Regions from separate parts of the Homo sapiens genome. Here regions 1, 2 and 3 are each linked to region 4. The links are contacts of gene promoters, found by promoter capture Hi-C in blood cells and fetal thymus (Javierre and others, 2016). All regions are on one chromosome and are shown on one strand. Each heading gives the region's core, a stretch centred on a gene start or on the middle of the fragment in contact. The rest is flanking DNA. Distances are from core to core; before and after follow the strand shown.

Evidence for each region. The method cuts DNA at HindIII sites, captures the fragments that hold promoters and counts their contacts. A CHiCAGO score of 5 or more calls a contact.
Region 1: a contact is called between a fragment that was not itself captured here and the fragment with the promoter of CDK5RAP2 in region 4, in 11 of 17 cell types (total CD8 T cells, naive CD4 T cells, fetal thymus and 8 more). The highest score is 12.0, in total CD8 T cells.
Region 2: a fragment that was not itself captured here is called in contact with the fragment with the promoter of CDK5RAP2 in region 4 in 1 of 17 cell types (M1 macrophages); the score reaches 5.2 in M1 macrophages.
Region 3: a fragment that was not itself captured here is called in contact with the fragment with the promoter of CDK5RAP2 in region 4 in 4 of 17 cell types (naive CD8 T cells, naive CD4 T cells, activated CD4 T cells and 1 more); the score reaches 8.9 in naive CD8 T cells.

Annotation. Positions count from the first base shown.
Region 1 is chr9:121,119,513-121,123,812 of GRCh38, reverse strand. All of the region lies in intron 12 of CNTRL (centriolin), which reads right to left. Among named protein-coding and RNA genes, the nearest start is that of CNTRL, 47 kb to the right of the region's middle. RefSeq lists enhancers at 1,743-1,942, 1,973-2,022, 1,897-2,398. The HindIII fragment of the contact is 1,172 bases long and covers 1,479-2,650 here.
Region 2 is chr9:119,968,144-119,972,053 of GRCh38, reverse strand. It overlaps LOC107987122 (a long non-coding RNA gene), which reads left to right and starts at 2,509. Exons shown (of 3, transcript XR_001746919.2): 1 at 2,509-2,960. RefSeq lists an enhancer at 3,192-3,692. The HindIII fragment of the contact is 3,353 bases long and covers 949-3,910 here.
Region 3 is chr9:121,194,375-121,198,580 of GRCh38, reverse strand. The region is part of intron 1 of RAB14 (RAB14, member RAS oncogene family); the gene reads left to right. Among named protein-coding and RNA genes, the nearest start is that of RAB14, 5.4 kb to the left of the region's middle. The HindIII fragment of the contact is 3,446 bases long and covers 801-4,206 here.
Region 4 is chr9:120,578,569-120,582,447 of GRCh38, reverse strand. It overlaps CDK5RAP2 (CDK5 regulatory subunit associated protein 2), which reads left to right and starts at 2,281. Exons shown (of 38, transcript NM_018249.6): 1 at 2,281-2,528. The coding sequence starts at 2,470. RefSeq lists enhancers at 2,064-2,193, 2,047-2,609. The HindIII fragment of the contact is 6,111 bases long and covers 393-3,879 here.

The DNA of each region.
Region 1 (4,300 bases), core at 815-3,314, 540 kb before region 4:
TTGTGTCAGGCCCTATATTGTTTTCACATGGGTAGTTTTCATTTAAATTTCAGGATAACTTGATACGGAAATCATTTCCACTTTACAGGTGAGAAAACTGAGGATCAAAGAGGTTAAGTGGTTTTTCCAAGGGCACAGCTAGGTAGGTCAGTGTTATTTGCGTTGCATTAAATTGTCTCTCTCTCTCTTTTTTATTTATTTATTTATTTATTTTGAGATGGAGTCTGACTCCATCACCCAGGCTAGAGTGCAGAGGCACGATCTCAGCTCACTGCAACCTCCGCCTCCTGGGTTCAAGCAATTCTCCTGCCTCAGCCTCCCAAGTACCTGGGACTACAGGTGCGGGCCACCACACCCAGGTTGTTGTTTGTTTTTACTTTTTGTTGTTTTTTTTAGTACAGACGGGAGTTTCACCATGTTGGCCAGGCTGATCTGGAACTCCTGACCTCAAGTGATCTGCCGGCCTTGGCCTCCCAAATCGCTGGGATTACAGGCATGAGCCACCGTGCCCAGCCTAAAATGTGTCTTTTAAAAAAGGTTTCCAAAATTAGTTGGTTATGGCATATATCTATAGAAAAAGACTTAAAAACTATATCCCAAAATGCTAACAAGAATTATACCTGGGTGGAAGGATTACATGGGGATTTTTTCCTTTTGTAATGAGTATTTTTATATTTAAAAAACTTTTATAGTAGATAAGTAATGCCTTTTTAATAAAAAAATTAAATCTACTTTTTAAAAAAGGTTTCTTAGAAGAAAATAGAGGTATGAAATAGATAAAATACTTGAAATTCAAATTCACTTTCAATCTCTTACACAAACAAACATTTGGCTTTTCAATAAACTGAGAGCTGACAGGGACCTCAAAGACCACTTAGCCCGGTGAGTCTCAAAATGGAGGGCCCTAAGGAGGTATACCCCTCTACAACTACACTTAACCCATGGTGGAAAACAGAGCTTTCACACACCCACACACCCTCCCGCACCCTGAAGTCATGGCATCAGGGAACTACTGTTAACTGAAAAGAATGGATTGTATTTCTCAGGTGTGCTAGGGAAAGCAAATCGAGAGCCAATGATCTAGTCTAACCCTTCCTTTTAAACATGAGAAAACTGAATTTCAGATCCATCAAATGACTTGCATGTCTCCTGAGGCAACTGTTCATATGGAGACAAAATAATTCCCCAGAGAACCTTTGCCCTCCCACTCACACCTTCATGACTCTTAAGTTGGTACCCACAGGATCAGAGGAATACAACAATAAATGAAGAGAAAGTTATCGAAAGAGGGAACTGTATCAGTCAGAAAAATGAACACCAATGATCTCAAGTCTAAGACCCATGTGATTATAAAAGAATATTACTCAATTTTATGTATTTGCTTACCCCAAATACAAGAAAGAAACGTCTCTTCATTTCTGATGAACAAAAGAGTGGCAGCTTAACTGGAAGGTTTTTAATTTACTACTGGTAAAGCTTTATGGTATTTTGCAAACTCTTTTCCCTACACTCCCAAAATACCCATTTGAAATCTTTCTGAAAAGTTAACTACATATAACAGCTTACATTCTAAGTAAATTTCGGGTTTTTATGGCTCAAGAAATAATTTCTTAAAAGACTGCACTCATATCAATAAATCTTTAAAATTCACCATTAAAAATTCCACCAAAACCTTTATACGCAGGATAAAAATCTGGTTCAATATGCCAATGGTGTACATTAAATACATGGGAACAAAAGTAGATTCTGCGATTTACACCACGGTGGAGCTCACAAAAGAGTTATTGTAAAAACAGGAACTTACATCTCTGACTCCTCCTCCTTTTAAGTCCTTTGTACAGAGAGAGAAAAAATATCATACCTTAACTTAAAATTTATCCTGTTAAAACTGAGCCGTTGAGAACAGAGAAACTGTGGGCGGAACGCTTTCTAATGCTGTCTTCAAATTCATGTGCACTTCCCTCTCTGACAGCCACATTTTTGCAAGCGCCTCCGAGCCTCTGTAACTTCGCAGAGCCTCAAACCACATTCTTGGCCAAGAGTGAGCGGCGGCCCCGCCCATCCAATCACCAGCAGCCTCTGCGGGCAGGCCCCACCCTCCGCGAGTTAAATCATAACACAGGAAGCTCCCAGGGGCCAATCACGCCCAAACTTTGCAACAGATCACTACAGCTCGTTCCCTCTAGCGAACAGTTACCTTTTGCTTCCAATAGGACATTTCCCAATAGAGAAAAGCAATACAAATCTTCATTATGTTTGCTCCGGTGATAATTTGTGCTTCTATGAATAATTTTATAACTAAAATAGTCTGTGAATTTGAAACCTAGTTAAATGCTTATATTTGCTGAAAACCTGCCTAGGCTTAGTTCTGAGCTAATTTTAAAATAATCTCTTTAGACCTTTAATTGCTTTGTGAAGAGAGGGTCATTGTGGTAGCATAAGCAAGGGCTCCACCTCTTTCTAAAACAATAACTTAGGGGCAATTCACTTAATATTTCTATATCACATTTTCATCCTCTGCAAATTGAAAGAAAAATGGATAGATGTTAATAAAAGTTCCTCACCAGAACATGGAAAATACAGCACAATGTATGACACATTGTGGGCACTTAATATGTTGCTTTCTATAATATCTCATCAAAGTGAAGCTTTTACTTTTAAATTCTATTGGCTATTCAGAAAGATACTTCATCTGATTACATAAAAATTAATTAAATAAAAGTCTACCTATATCTATAGAAAAATATGCAGGCATCTCACTCTTGATTATTTCTCTTCTGCTTAAAGGCTCACATTTTGTAGCCTAAAATGGGATGCCAAACACTAGCCAATATGAAACTTTGTGAATCAGAAAAAGATGTTCCCGCTGGATAAACTTAAAAGAGATGTCCTCTGATGCTAGGACTAAGGCTGCAAACTTAAGAACTATTAGTAATTTTAATAAAATTAAAAAGGAAATTCAAATCTGGTTTGTATGTTTCATCCCCACTGCACAGGTTGATTTTAGCTAACTTCAAAACTTGGATGCCATTCCCATGTCTCATTTACCTCCTTTCCATGTATAATTCTCTACAGAAATCCAGTGGGAATTGAACTCTCTGTCCGCCAGAAATATAACAGTCATTTGTTGAAAGCAAACACATAATCCAGCTACTAATTAGACTCATAGATCACAGAACTGGAAGGGGAAGCAAAGGAGTTTTGGGTAGGATCTATAAGCTGCTTCCTTCCTCCCTTCCACAATGCAAGCATTCATAAACATAGGGCTGGTTGGTCCCTGGGGATACGGATACCAGTAGGATAGAGTTCATGTCTTCAGGGACCTTACATGGGTGGGAGATTGAACAAACATATGCAATAAAGTAAGATATTATTGACCACATTATACATTACTTAAAATACCCCATTTTTCCTCAAAATTATTTAAAATAATCAAGACTACTTTTGGTTTCAATATTAATACCTTGGTTTCAATTTTTAGGCTTTTGTTAGAAAAGACCTTATATCTGTCATAAGGTTATCCTTTATTGAAATTAGCTGGCCCACAAAAAAATATATATGATATGTACTAAAATGCTTAAAGGAACAGTTAAACAACTTGTCAAGTACTTAAAGCAATTACAATATCCTTACTATGTTAAATTCTATGATTTCTATTAATCCAGAGATCTTAAAGTTCTTTAAAAAAAAAACCCCTATTATTCAAGGTATACCAGGAGAATATGTAGAAGATATTTTTCCTTGTATTTTAGGAATATTAGCTAAAATATAAGCAATTAGTACAACTTCTTAGAGTAGAGACAGAGACAAGAGCCTGGCTGTATCCAGCCACCTGACCATATCTAGCCATATCTCAGGAAGAAACATTCCAGAGAATGTTTCCTTTTTTAAGGACAAAACAAAACAGTATGAAAAAACAAATACGTTCAGTGGAAAATTTGCAAAAAGGATTAAATAGAAGAGGTAGAAAAAGGACTCGCAACCCCCTTCAGCTTTTTCTGCTCTTAAGAAAGATGAAGGGCTGGGCATGGTGGCTCATGACTGTAATCCCAGCACTTTGGGAGGCCAAGGTAGGCAGATCAGGAGGTCAGGAGTTTGAGACCAGCCTGAGCAACATGGAGAAACCCCATCTCTACCAAAAATACAAAAATTAGCTGGGTGTGGTGGTGCGCGCCTGTAATCCCAGCTACTCAGGAGGCTGAGGCAGGAGAATCGCTTCGGCAGGGCATGGTGGCTCACGCCTGTAATCCCAGCACTTTGGGAGGTTGAGGTGGGTGGATCACAAGGTCAGGAGATCAAG
Region 2 (3,910 bases), core at 1,376-3,875, 610 kb after region 4:
AGTGGAATCCCTTCTATCTGTTGTGACAACCAAAACTGCCCTGGAACTATCTAAATCATTCTTTAGAGGTACAGTTGCCCATACTGAGATCAATAGTTCTTATTTAACCTCCTCATGGTTTGGATGGAGATACAAAAAGCCACGAAGGGGAAGAACTTGTTCCTGGTAAAGGGAGGTTGGAACCCAGGTCTCATGTCTGCTGGCTCAGTGCTGTCCCACTGGCCTGACTCTCCTGCAAAGTTGGTCCTCCTGCAAATGTCTTCGAAAGCTGGTCTATAGAGAGATCCTTTTGTTCAATGGAGGTTCAGCCCTTAACCTGGCCAGTGTGAATTCTGGGCTTCTGTACTGTGTGTATATTCTTAAAGTGAGATGCATCTGCAGTTTAACATTTTTTGTGCCTATTTTCTAATCATTCTCAGCAAAGGTGTGTAAAGGACTGAGGATAACACTGTATGCCTTGTGATCTACAGAGCATTGGAAACACTTTCTGCATCAACATTTCTTCCCACCGACTGGCTAGGATGCCTAGAATTTCCCCATACCTTTGAGTAAAGCCATTTAAAGTTTCCTTTAAAATGCAAACACTTTTGATTTACTCACATGAATTCTTCAGTGACCTCTTAGGTCCTCAGTTGCTTTATCTATATAATAGGGATAACACACCTACTTCATAACTGTTATGAAGATTAAATGTGATTAATGAATAAAATTAAAACACTTGTGATAGAGTAAGTGGCAAAACCTTGTTTATCTTCCGACCTCTTCACAAAGAGGTCTGGTGGGTATAAGGCGCACATACTGCTACTCATTCCCACCAATCTCAAGGCAGACATCACCAATTTATTTCAGCACTCTTATGCATGGACACCAACACGGCCTTGGGTAACTTCTCGGATTAGAACTCCAGGCAGCCAAGACTAATTGGAATCAGCACAGGAATTGAAAGCTTTCTTTATCTTTGCTTTAGCTAATTGCTGGACATTAACTCCCTTTATGTTAATGAGAGATGAGATAATCCCTCAGCTACCAGAGCCTGGAGGGACAGAGAAAGTTTTATGGAGAAGCAAAAGATGACAGAGAAAGAAGAAGGGAAGGTACATCAGAATGTCCAAGAACAGGGCACTGAGCTGCTGGCACACAGCATAAGCCCTGCCTTCAGAAGTTAATAAGCCACACGCAAGGCACCTAGCATGCGCCTGTCACACATGGGTGCTCAATATCCAATGGTCCTCTTCCTGCTTGTTTGCTTCCCTCACTGTTTGGTCAGGTCTCCGAACTAAGGCACCTTGCTGCCATATTGCCCATAGAGTTCAACCCAACTTTAATGATAATCAAGAACCATTGGGCTGAGCGCGGTGGCTGGGTGTAATCCCAGCACTTTGGGAGGCCAAGGCGGGCGGATCACGAGGTCAGGAGATGGAGACCATCCTGGCTAACATGGTGAAACCCCTTCTCAACTAAAAAAAAAAAAAAAAAGCCAGGGGTGGTGGCGGGTGCTTGTAGTCCTAGCTACTCGGGAGGCTGAGGCAGGAGAATGGCATGAACCCGGGAGGTGGAGCTTGCATTGAGCCGAGATTGTGCCACTGCACTCCAGCCTGGGCGACAGAGTGGAGACTCTGTCTCAAAAAACAAAAAAAACAAAACAAAAAAAAACAAAAACAGAATCATTGGCCAGGTGTGGTGGCTCACACTTGTAATCCCAGCACTTTGGGAGGCCGAGGTGGGTGGGTCACAAGGTCAGGAGATCGAGACCATCCTGGTCAACATGGTGAAACCCCATCTCTACTAAAAATACAAAAAATTAGATGGGCGTGGTGGCGTGTGCCTGTAATCCCAGCTACTCGGGAGGCCGAGGCAGGAGAATCGCTTGAACTAGGGAGTCGGAGGTTCCAGTGAGCCGAGATCGTGCCACTGCACTCCAGCCTGGCAACAGAGTGAGACTCCATCTAAAAAAATAAAATAAAATAAAATAAAATAAACCATTAACATTTACCAAGCATTTATCACGAGCATTTATCACGTATCAGAAATCCTTCTCAGTACTTTCTATAGATTATGTTAACTTAGCCTCCTAATATCCTCGTGAGGTGGATACTATGATATTTCCCATTTTACAGATAAATAACAAAGGGCCCAGAGAAGTTAAGTTATGCTCCAGCTAGCCAGTAGTGGAGCTGGGATCTGAACCTATAGGCTTCTGCTGTTGAGGACAGTGGGATCATGCTGCCTTCCTGCACCACTGTGAGCCTGGCCCTGTGCCGGTGATAGGAGGTGAAGGGCATAGTCCTTGACATCAAGGGGCTTTTGTTCTGGCAGTAGAGGCTGGTGGTGAGCCATCCTTGGAAGGTTTCTGGGGGTGACTGGTCAGAAAAGGAGGAGCTGCGGTCAAGCAGGTGAGGTGTTGGAGGCTGAGATCCGGGTGTCAATGTTCAAAGTTTGAATTTGTACTCTATTGAGGCAAGGGGTAACCCAGGGGTATAAGAACTGAAGACACTAGAAATACTGCATTCTCTATTTCTAAAAGTCAAAGACTGTGTGATTCTAAGACTCCACCCCTATAGCTTAGAGAGTTAATTTTTCTATAATTTCATAATTCCTACATGCTAGAATTAAAAGGTTCTATGATCTCACATTTCATTTTATTATAGAATCCACCCACAGAGCCAGAAGCAGGCTTCCCCGCATCCCCTTTGGTTATGTTTGGGAATCACTGCGGCTTTCCTTGCCTTCTGGCTGTTGCCGCTGTTGCCCTCTAGATGGCGCCCAGCCTTCTGAGCAATAGTGCAGGACACCGGCCCGGAGACTGCACAGCTCCAGAGAGCTTCGAGGGCCAAGTCTGCAGTTTGGTTGCTTCCTCCTGAAATCAACGTGGGAGTCTTAAAAGCACGGGGAGAATAGTCTACTCAGCAGGGAGCATTTCGGGATGATGCAGCCATTCATAGGAAGCATGGAGAGGCTTGGTAAGTGTCATGCCAAACAAGCACCCTGAAAGAGGATTGTCATCACTGCTTTGCAAATGAGGAAGCTGAGGCGCGGAGCGGTGAGGTAACTTGGTTCAGGCCCCAGAGTTAGTAAATGGTAGAGCAGGTCTCAAGCCCACCTCTCTTCTAGTCCGGCTTTTCACTGCAGAGGCTGCCTCCAGAAGGACACTAGGAAAGGAGTGGGGAACATAACATGGCCCCTGGCAGCCAGTGCTGTGGTGCGGAGGGCCCATGGGTCCTAAGGGCCCAGAGGAGGCAGCCCCCCTGTGGCCCCAGCTCACCAGGGGGGCTCACTAGGACCACTGCAACTTCTTCTCCAGGAGTCTTCCTGCCTTCTGGCAGTTCCTCCTCTGCACCAGTTGGCGACCTCTTTGTGATGCAATCTGACCACTTCACTCGTTCCTTAGAATCCTTCAGCAGCTTCCCATTGCCTATGCATTTCAAAATGTCTGCCTTGAAATTTAAGCCTCTATGGTCATGGACCCCCCCATATCTGCAACCTCTTTTCATACACTTTATCTACTCTTCAACCATGATCAGCTTTTGGCTTCCTCCTTTGCTTTAAGGACCCTTGTGATTATATATTAGACCCACCTGAATAATTGAGGCTAATCTGCCCATTTCAGAGCCAGCTGACTGGCAACCCTGATTCCATCTGCAACCTTAATCCCCACTTCCTGTGGAAGGCAATGTATTCACAGCTTCTGGTGATTAAGACTTGGACATCTCTAGGAGGACATTATTATGCCTAGCACCTGTTCCATGTTCTCTCTGGCCTGCATACTTTTGCCTAAAATGCCATTTCCCCCTTCCACAACTGGAAAACTCCTATTCTTTCTTAAGGATTTAGCTCCAGTGTTGCCTCCCTTGTGAATTCTCTCCTGAGAGCAGTTAGATGCTCCTCCCTCTTTTGGGTTCCTACATTACCT
Region 3 (4,206 bases), core at 1,274-3,773, 620 kb before region 4:
TGGAAATAACAAGGATAAGAATTAAATTACCTGGAATATTTAATGGGTTGCTTTTCCCTTGTTATGTCTTGGATCAGCTATGTAAAAATTATACAGTAACATCATAGGTTCTAAGGAGTAGAATAGCTGTATAACAGTTTTTAAAATCAGAGCAAACAGTAAGTAGTTAAGCTATTAAAAAACTCCCAAAAATATGCCCTCTACTATTGAGTGTTGGTTTTTCTATTTTGAACCCAATCGTATTATTGGCTTCATAAGATATTCCTCTTATTATCAGTAAATGCGGAAATAATGTTGGGAATATTATGAGTGGGAGATTTGTTTGTTTTTGTTTGGGTATTCTTTAACCTGTATTAAAATAGAAAAGGGCTTTTGAAATATTTATCGGTAGAGAAAATTTTATTTTTAATTCATTATAGTAAGTCAGTGCAGGGATATATAAAGAAAAGTTAATAATTTCTCTATTCCCTGTTTCTCCTGTCCATGTATTTTTCACAATTTGGTGTGTATTCCATATTATATGAATATAGGGTTGAGTGTGTGTGTGTGTGTGTGTGTGTTTGAAAGTGGGGTATGCTGTTGCATAAAACTCTGCAACATGTGTTTTTTCACTTAACAAAATCATGGATGTATTTCCAGGTTAATGCATATCAATCAAAATGGTTTCTAAACTACATGGATATTATTTTGTATTATAGATGTACTTTATTCAGTCATTTCTTTGCTGATTATTTCCAGTTTTTTGCTGTAAAAATGGTGCATTAAATGCACTAATACCTGTAGCCTTATGGGCTGAAGCTTTTGTATATGTAGGATACTTTCTGGGCCAAAGGATGATTTGGATTATTGTTAAGATTTTTAAACATACTGATTACTTTCCAAAATGTTGGCACATTTCCACAAGCAGTATGTATGAAAGTGTATACCTTCACATCTGTACCTACATGTTTCAAAACTAGTCGTTTATATGTCTGTGTAATCTTAGAAAGGTGTCTGATTCAGTAAATAGAAACCATGCATTCTATTTTTGTCACAACAATAATTAGTGTTTAATATTTGTTCAGTAACCACTTAGATCTAAATGTACTGACATGAAAATGTGTCTATCATTTTGTTGAGTAAAAGAAATATGCAGAATTTTACAAGATGGCGTACCCCATTTTAAAATACATTTTTCACCTTAACAGTGGTGAAAATGGTGGTGAAAAATGGTATATTTTCACAGTGGTGAAATGGTATGTTTCCCCAGTGGTGAAAACTGGTATGTTTCATGTTCAGGAGATGAGGTTGAGAAATCCTTTATTAAAGCAATATTAAGCATATTAATATTTTTAAGGAGTCAGTTGAATACATGGCACAGTTGTTAGTGTTTACTATGCATTTAGTAAATATTTCTCTTGGCAGCAAGGGTAGTTTATAGCTAAATTTTACATGCACTAATATCCTTCCTCTTTCTCTGATTTTTATTTTATCAGTCTACCTGTACATACCTGAAATAAGCTAATAATACCTTAGAGAAAATCATGGTCTTTGGAATCAGGCCTGGGTTCAAGTTCTAGGTCTACCATTTACAAACTTTATAACATTGGCCAAATGAGTGAATTTCTCCAAACCTCAGTTTCTTTAATTTTTTGCATGGACATAATGATAATGACTCTGCAGAGTTGTGAGAATTAAGTAAGAATTATAAAAAGTAGTATAGATCATTACATGGTTTACTCTCAAGTGTTCTCAAGAAACTTTTTCTAAGTAAATGAATTATAGTATTATAAGTTAGTATTACTAGTATTACCAGTCATTTATATCTATAAATTCTGACTGCAGTGCATCCTCTGAATGTAATTCATGTATCTTATTCAGAATATTAAATTATAATTAAGCGAGTGAATACTGCAGAGCTACATGGTACAGCTGATAACCATGTGGAGGAGGCACGACGGTGGAGAGGGCAGGATGGTGTGGTGGTTAAGAGGGGATCTCTGTAGTTAAAACAGTCCTAGGTTCAGTACAGACTTGGCTGTGTGACCTGGGCATGTTACCTCTTGAGTCTGTGTCCTCATCTGTAAAATGAGGATAATAATTAACTATGTTATAGGATAGTAGTAAGGATTAAATGAAATTGTATGTAAAATATTTAGCACATTGCCCGGCATATGTCAAGTACCCAATAAATAGTAACTCACAATTGTATTTCTTATTAGTTTGCAAATTGTTGATTATGTGTTAAATGCCTGTTGTCTAAATATGTGGTACTTTTTTTCCTTTAAAGGCAATAAAGATCTTTTACTTACATATGAACTTGATTCGAATACTTTCTGTAAAATGTGGAATAAAGTGAATTTTAATTGTCCCGGTAGTTGTATACAAGTTATAGAATATTACCAGGATTTTTTTTTTCATTTATGGGGATTGTAATGTTAAGTGGGCTCATGTTTTCAGAGTTTGAACCAGACCAGCATTTCCTGTCCTTTTTTTTAGACTCAAGAGTTCTCTAAGTAAAGCAAAAGTACTGTTAAATAATAGGGGAAGAATTTTTTCCCTTCCAAAGTTAGGTAAAAATATATTCCTCACCTTAACAATAGTATGTTTCATGTTCAAGAAATGAGACTGAGAAATCTTTTGTTAAAGCAACATTAAGCCTATTTAGTATTGAATATAATTCTACTGCAAATACTTTTGACTGAAATGTATTAATATCAGTCAACTATGGGAATATATTTAAATCTAGACAGTATCTTCTTAGAATAAGAAAGGGAAGACCTGTTGTGAGTGTTGGTGGCTACAGTGTTAAATGTTTTCTGCCTTTGTTTACTGAAATTAGTAAGTTTGAGTAGTTTTCCTTTAATTCTGCTTTTATGGTTTTTATTTGTAATTTTTAAAGAAACGAGCAAGAAAAATGTGTGGTGTGGTGAGACAGAGCCCTGGTATTAAATCCGAAATAGTGATCATTTCTTTTATTTGGAAATAGTTTCTACTATATGAATGTTTGTAATTTTAAGATACATTTTCAAAATTAGTTATCTCACATTTAATGAATGTATGATAATTAGCAGGTACACAAATTAGTACAACTAAAATTGGGTCACAATTTTATGATAGTCTTTAAAGCATTTGAAGTAGAAATTTGGGATTGTTAGAAGTCATAGCTTTAACATAAAATAGAAGGAGCAAAGTATGTACAGCTACAACCTTTAGTTAGAAGAGGGAAAGAAATTAGGAAAATCAAGGGAGAAGAGCACAGAAGAGACAGTAATTTGAAGGTGACTAAGTGATTACTTTTACCCAGGTTTGAATGGGGAAAGAATTTAGAAGAATTAAAAATTGATTAGAAGAGTCGGAAGAATTCAAGTTAAGAAGTTAATAATCTTTAAATATTTTTAATGTAAGAGATTACTTTTCCCCCTTGTGTTTGGCATCTGGTTCAGAGATCAGGTAAATAATCCAGACCAGTTTTAGTCTCAGGACCAAGTTCATTCTTAAAAGTTTTGAGTTCCTAGTGCCTGGAAAAGGGAATAAAGTTGTTGTGATGTTCAGAATCAGTTAATCTAACTAGAAAAACTCCCTTTCCTGAAAGAACTGGTTAAGGGAGTTTTCTGTGATGCAGGAGACTGATTATAAATGTGTTAGAACATGCCAAACTGGAATGGGTAACAAGGCTTCTACTTTCACTAAATGTAATACAGATAGCTAAGTGAGAAGACTGTAGTGTGTGGAAGTGATTAATACTTTACTGTAATTAACAACTTCCTCTTCCCTTATAATAATACACTTGTTTTAAATATATATTCTTTCTACGGGTTCAATGTTGTTATATAGAACTTTTGCTTGAAATATGGTATATAGTAAGGTGATAATTTCAGTAAATAAATTTCTCCAGTCATATTAAATGTCTGGCTTGTGTAATGTGACATTGACAGAAACACTAAAAGCCAGGCTTAAAAATACTGTAAGTCAGATTTTTTTAAATGGGTGAAATCTTTATATGTATAAATAATTTTTGTCTTAAGCTGAAAGCTGGTTTGAGAATAAACTTTATTGAAAGTTATTACCAGTTTTACAGTTCAGCCCCTTGTTTCTCTCTAGGACCTAGCACGTGTCTTACACATTCAGATAATTCATTTGAATAAATTGGAAAGTTTTTTGTTTTCTTTTTAAGTAGAAGAGAAATTAGAATTCTTTAGGTTAAGTCTATTTGAGGGTAAGAAA
Region 4 (3,879 bases), core at 1,032-3,531:
ACCAACCTGACCAAGATGGACAAACCCTGCCTCTACTAAAAATACAAAACTAGCCGGACGTGGCAGTGCATGCCTATAATTCCAGCCACTTGGGAGGCTGAGGCAGGAGAATCGCTTGAACCCGGGAGGCAGAGGTTGTGGTGAACCGAGATCGTGCCATTGCACTCCAGCCTGGGCAACAAGAGCAAAACTCCATCTCAAAAAAAAAAAAAAAGGTGATCTGCCAAAGATCACAGAGTTGGTGGCAGAGCCAGGGTGGGAATCCTGACACCCCAACTTCCCTGCTTTTGGACACACCTATCTCATGGGTTGAACTTACTGGCAAGGAGTATTGGTTCCTGGGCTTCAAGGACTGCCCCGTTCCTGAGGCAGTGCACCAGGTGTGCTAAGCTTTCCCTCTTTTTCATGCTTTTATCATTGCTAATTGTGGGTGTGGTTGAAGATCTAGAGAAAGAAGGGGGACAGGCAAATAATCGCGGGCTTTGGAAGCCTAACTAAAGCTGAGAGAGAGACAGAGAGAGAGAGAGAAAGAGAGAGAATGAATATGAATCTGGGATACACAGAATTACTATTGACAGAGGTCCTAAAAGTATCTCTGATTATTCTCACAAAAACCTTGCAGGATAGGTATTGGCCTTATTTCCAGACTGATTGATTGAATCACTCATTCATTTAACATACATTTTCAAATAGCTGCTGAGTGGCAGACATAGTGCTAGGTGTTGAGGATATAGCAGTGAACAATTCAGAATATAGTCCCTGCCCCATGCAGCTTCCAGTCTAGTGCAAGGAAAGACATTTAAAAAATGATTTTACACACACACACACACACACAAATTGCAAAATATGGTAAGTGCCACAAAGGAATAATTTGCATTGCTAGGAATACAAGAAGTGGCTTGATTTAGATTAAATGACTAGGGAAGGCTTCTTTTGAAAAGTATCAATAATTGGTTAATTACTTAACTGAAGAATGAGGGCCTGGTGCAGTGGCTCAGGCCTATAACCCCAGCACTTTGGGAGGCCAAGGTGGGAGGATTGCTTGAGGCCAGGAGTTCAAGACCAGCCTGGGCAACATAGTGAGACCCTGTCTCTATTTAAAAAAAAAAAAAAAAGAATGAGGAAACAGGGTGAAAGGGGAATTGTTCAAGATTACTGGGAAAGTCACTATCTATCCACTCACCAACCATTTCAAGTTATTTTCATCGGGCTCTCTCACAAGGGCCTGCAGAGGAAGGAGCAACACTGAGTTGAGGAGGGGAAGGTTAATTTCATTGCTTAAGCTCTGCCAAGATTATCTAAGTGTTTGGTGATTGCTATGTGCTTTAAGAAAGGCAGCCAAGGGGCCGGTGCTGTGGCTCACGCCTGTAATCCCAGCAGTTTGGAAGGCCGGGGTGGGCAGATCACGAGGTCAGGAGATTGAGACCATCCTGGCCAACATGGTGAAACCCCGTCTCTACTAAACATACAAAAATTACCCGGGTGTGGTGGCGCAAGGCCGAGGCAGAAGAATCGCTTAAACCCAGAAGGTGAAGGTTGCAGTGAGCTGAGATCGGGCCACTGCACTCCAGCCTGGCGACAGAGGCACCATTTCAAAAAAAAAAAAAAAGAAAGGCAGCCAGGGTTATGCAGAGAGCCCTCATCTAGTTGGCAGGAGCTGCAGACCCCCACTCCAGTTGAAAGACATTGTCAATACTTAATTACTTTGGGAGAGTCCTTTCCTCTTGCTGGCCCTCAGTTTTCTGACCACAGGTGCCTTTGAGTCCTAATGGTAATAAAAGACCAATAGGTGAGAGACTGGAGTGGGAGTGCTGTTGACCACTGGCTCATGGGAATGAGTTATTTGCTTCAAACTAAGTCTGCAAATTACTGTTTGCCTTGAGATTCCGCACGTAGTATTTTTCCAAAGCAAGGCAGCACTCAGTTATCTGAGTTTCAACTTAAGGTCAAATCCCAAAGTTTTGGGGTCATTATTCTAGAAAAGCAAACACGAGGTTAGGAACTTTGAGGATTCCTGAGTGGCTGTATTCATTTCCATCTCCCGCGTAAATTAACGGACTAGGGCCCGCTTTGGCCCTCAACAAAGATGGCACCCGCCCTCGCCTCTCCCTAAGTGCCCTCACAAAAAATGGCAGCCGGCCTTTTTTTGTCTCTTATTTTTGCTTGGCTTAAGCACGGATGCTTTGCCCTTAGTTAAGATGGCACCTATCCCCGCTTCCCTGCCCGTCCTCTGGCGCCAGCCGGTCGGCTTCACTGCGTGCGCCTCCGTGACCCCGCCTCGTTTCCGTAGGAAGAAGCGCCGGGAAAGATGGCGGCGTCTGTGGTTTGAATTCCAGCGGCGCCGCCAGAGTCTGAACAAGAGCTGGGGTGGAGGGGGCGGGGACCTGGGGAGCCCGGCGGGTCGCTATCGCGGGGGGTACTAGTGGCGCCGCCGCCACAGACACCAACGCTGTCGCCACCTCTGTAGCCATGATGGACTTGGTGTTGGAAGAGGACGTCACCGTCCCTGGGACGCTCAGCGGCTGCAGGTGCGGCCGGGGCATTGGTGGTCGTGGTAACCGGGCCGGGGTTCCAGCTGGTGGGATTTCGTTCTAACGCGGCCTTGGGGTTTGCTCTTGAGGGTGTCTGGCCAGGGGCAGTGTGTGGGGTGGGTTCCTTCGGAGAGGGTCTCTGGGGGGCCCACCACCTGACACTCTGGAGGGCTGGGAGCCGCGACCTGCACCACAATTGCCAGTAGCATTGCGCCATGTACTTTGTAGAGCGTGTGAAGAACAGGTAAGGAGTTTTCTGAAAGAGTAGGACGAGGGTGGGGCCACTTGGAGTATCCCGTTAGTGGGGATTGGTGGAGAACAGGGACCTTGAGGGCACCTGATGGTTCCTTCTGGTTTGAGAGTTTGTTTTCATTATGGAGAGAGTGTAGCCGGTATGCCCAGACTTTGCTTTTTGGGTCACATAGTGGCCACCCAGGAGGCAATGGAGTGCAATGATTAAGAACCTTGGCTAGAGTTGGACAAAACTGGATTCAAATCCAGCCCTGTAAACTGACTAGCTGTGTGACCTTGGTAAAGTGATTTCACCGGCTTTCCCATCTGTAAAATGGGCTAGTAATATCCACCCAACAGAGTTGGGGTGAGGATTAAAAGAGGTGATGCCTGTCGAGCCATTTGCTTGGCAGGTGTAGTGCCTGCCACATAATCAGTGCTTAAAAAATGATCTTGTGTTGCCATTAGTGTCATTATTACTACTGTCATCAAAGGTGATATGAATCAGGGAATAATGGCCAAGAGTGGCCTCCCATGGACCTGCCCCAAGAGACTGTGGGAGTCCCCATTGCTGGTGGAGCTGGGGTCTGGTAGGAAGGCCTAACAGAGCGCAACTCTGCTCCACGGCTGGCCCCTGTGGTTGTCCTAGACTCCTGGTTGGAGAGTGAGTAGAGGGAAGAGGAGGAGAGCCCTGACGGAGAACCTGCACTGTTTATCCAGCTCTACTATGGACAAGCTGCTGCTTTTAGTCAACAGATCCTAATTGAAAGGGTGACCATGTTATTTATTGTGCTAACTGGGACACTTAAGAGTGAAAAGAGCCAGGTGCGGTGGCTCACCTGTGTAATCCTAGCCCTTGGGGAGGCCGAGGTGGGCCGATTTCTTGAGCTCAGGAGTGTGAGATCAGCCTGGGCAACATGGTGAAATCCTATCTCTACAAAAACTACAAAGATTAGCCAGGCGTGGTGGCATGCACTTGTAGTCCCAGCCGCTCGGGAGGCTGAGGCAGGAGGATTGCATGAGCCCGGAAGGTTGATGCTGCAGTGAGCTGTGTTCATGCCACTGCACTGTAGCCTGGGTGACAAAGTGAGACTCTATCTTTAAAAAAAAAAAAAAG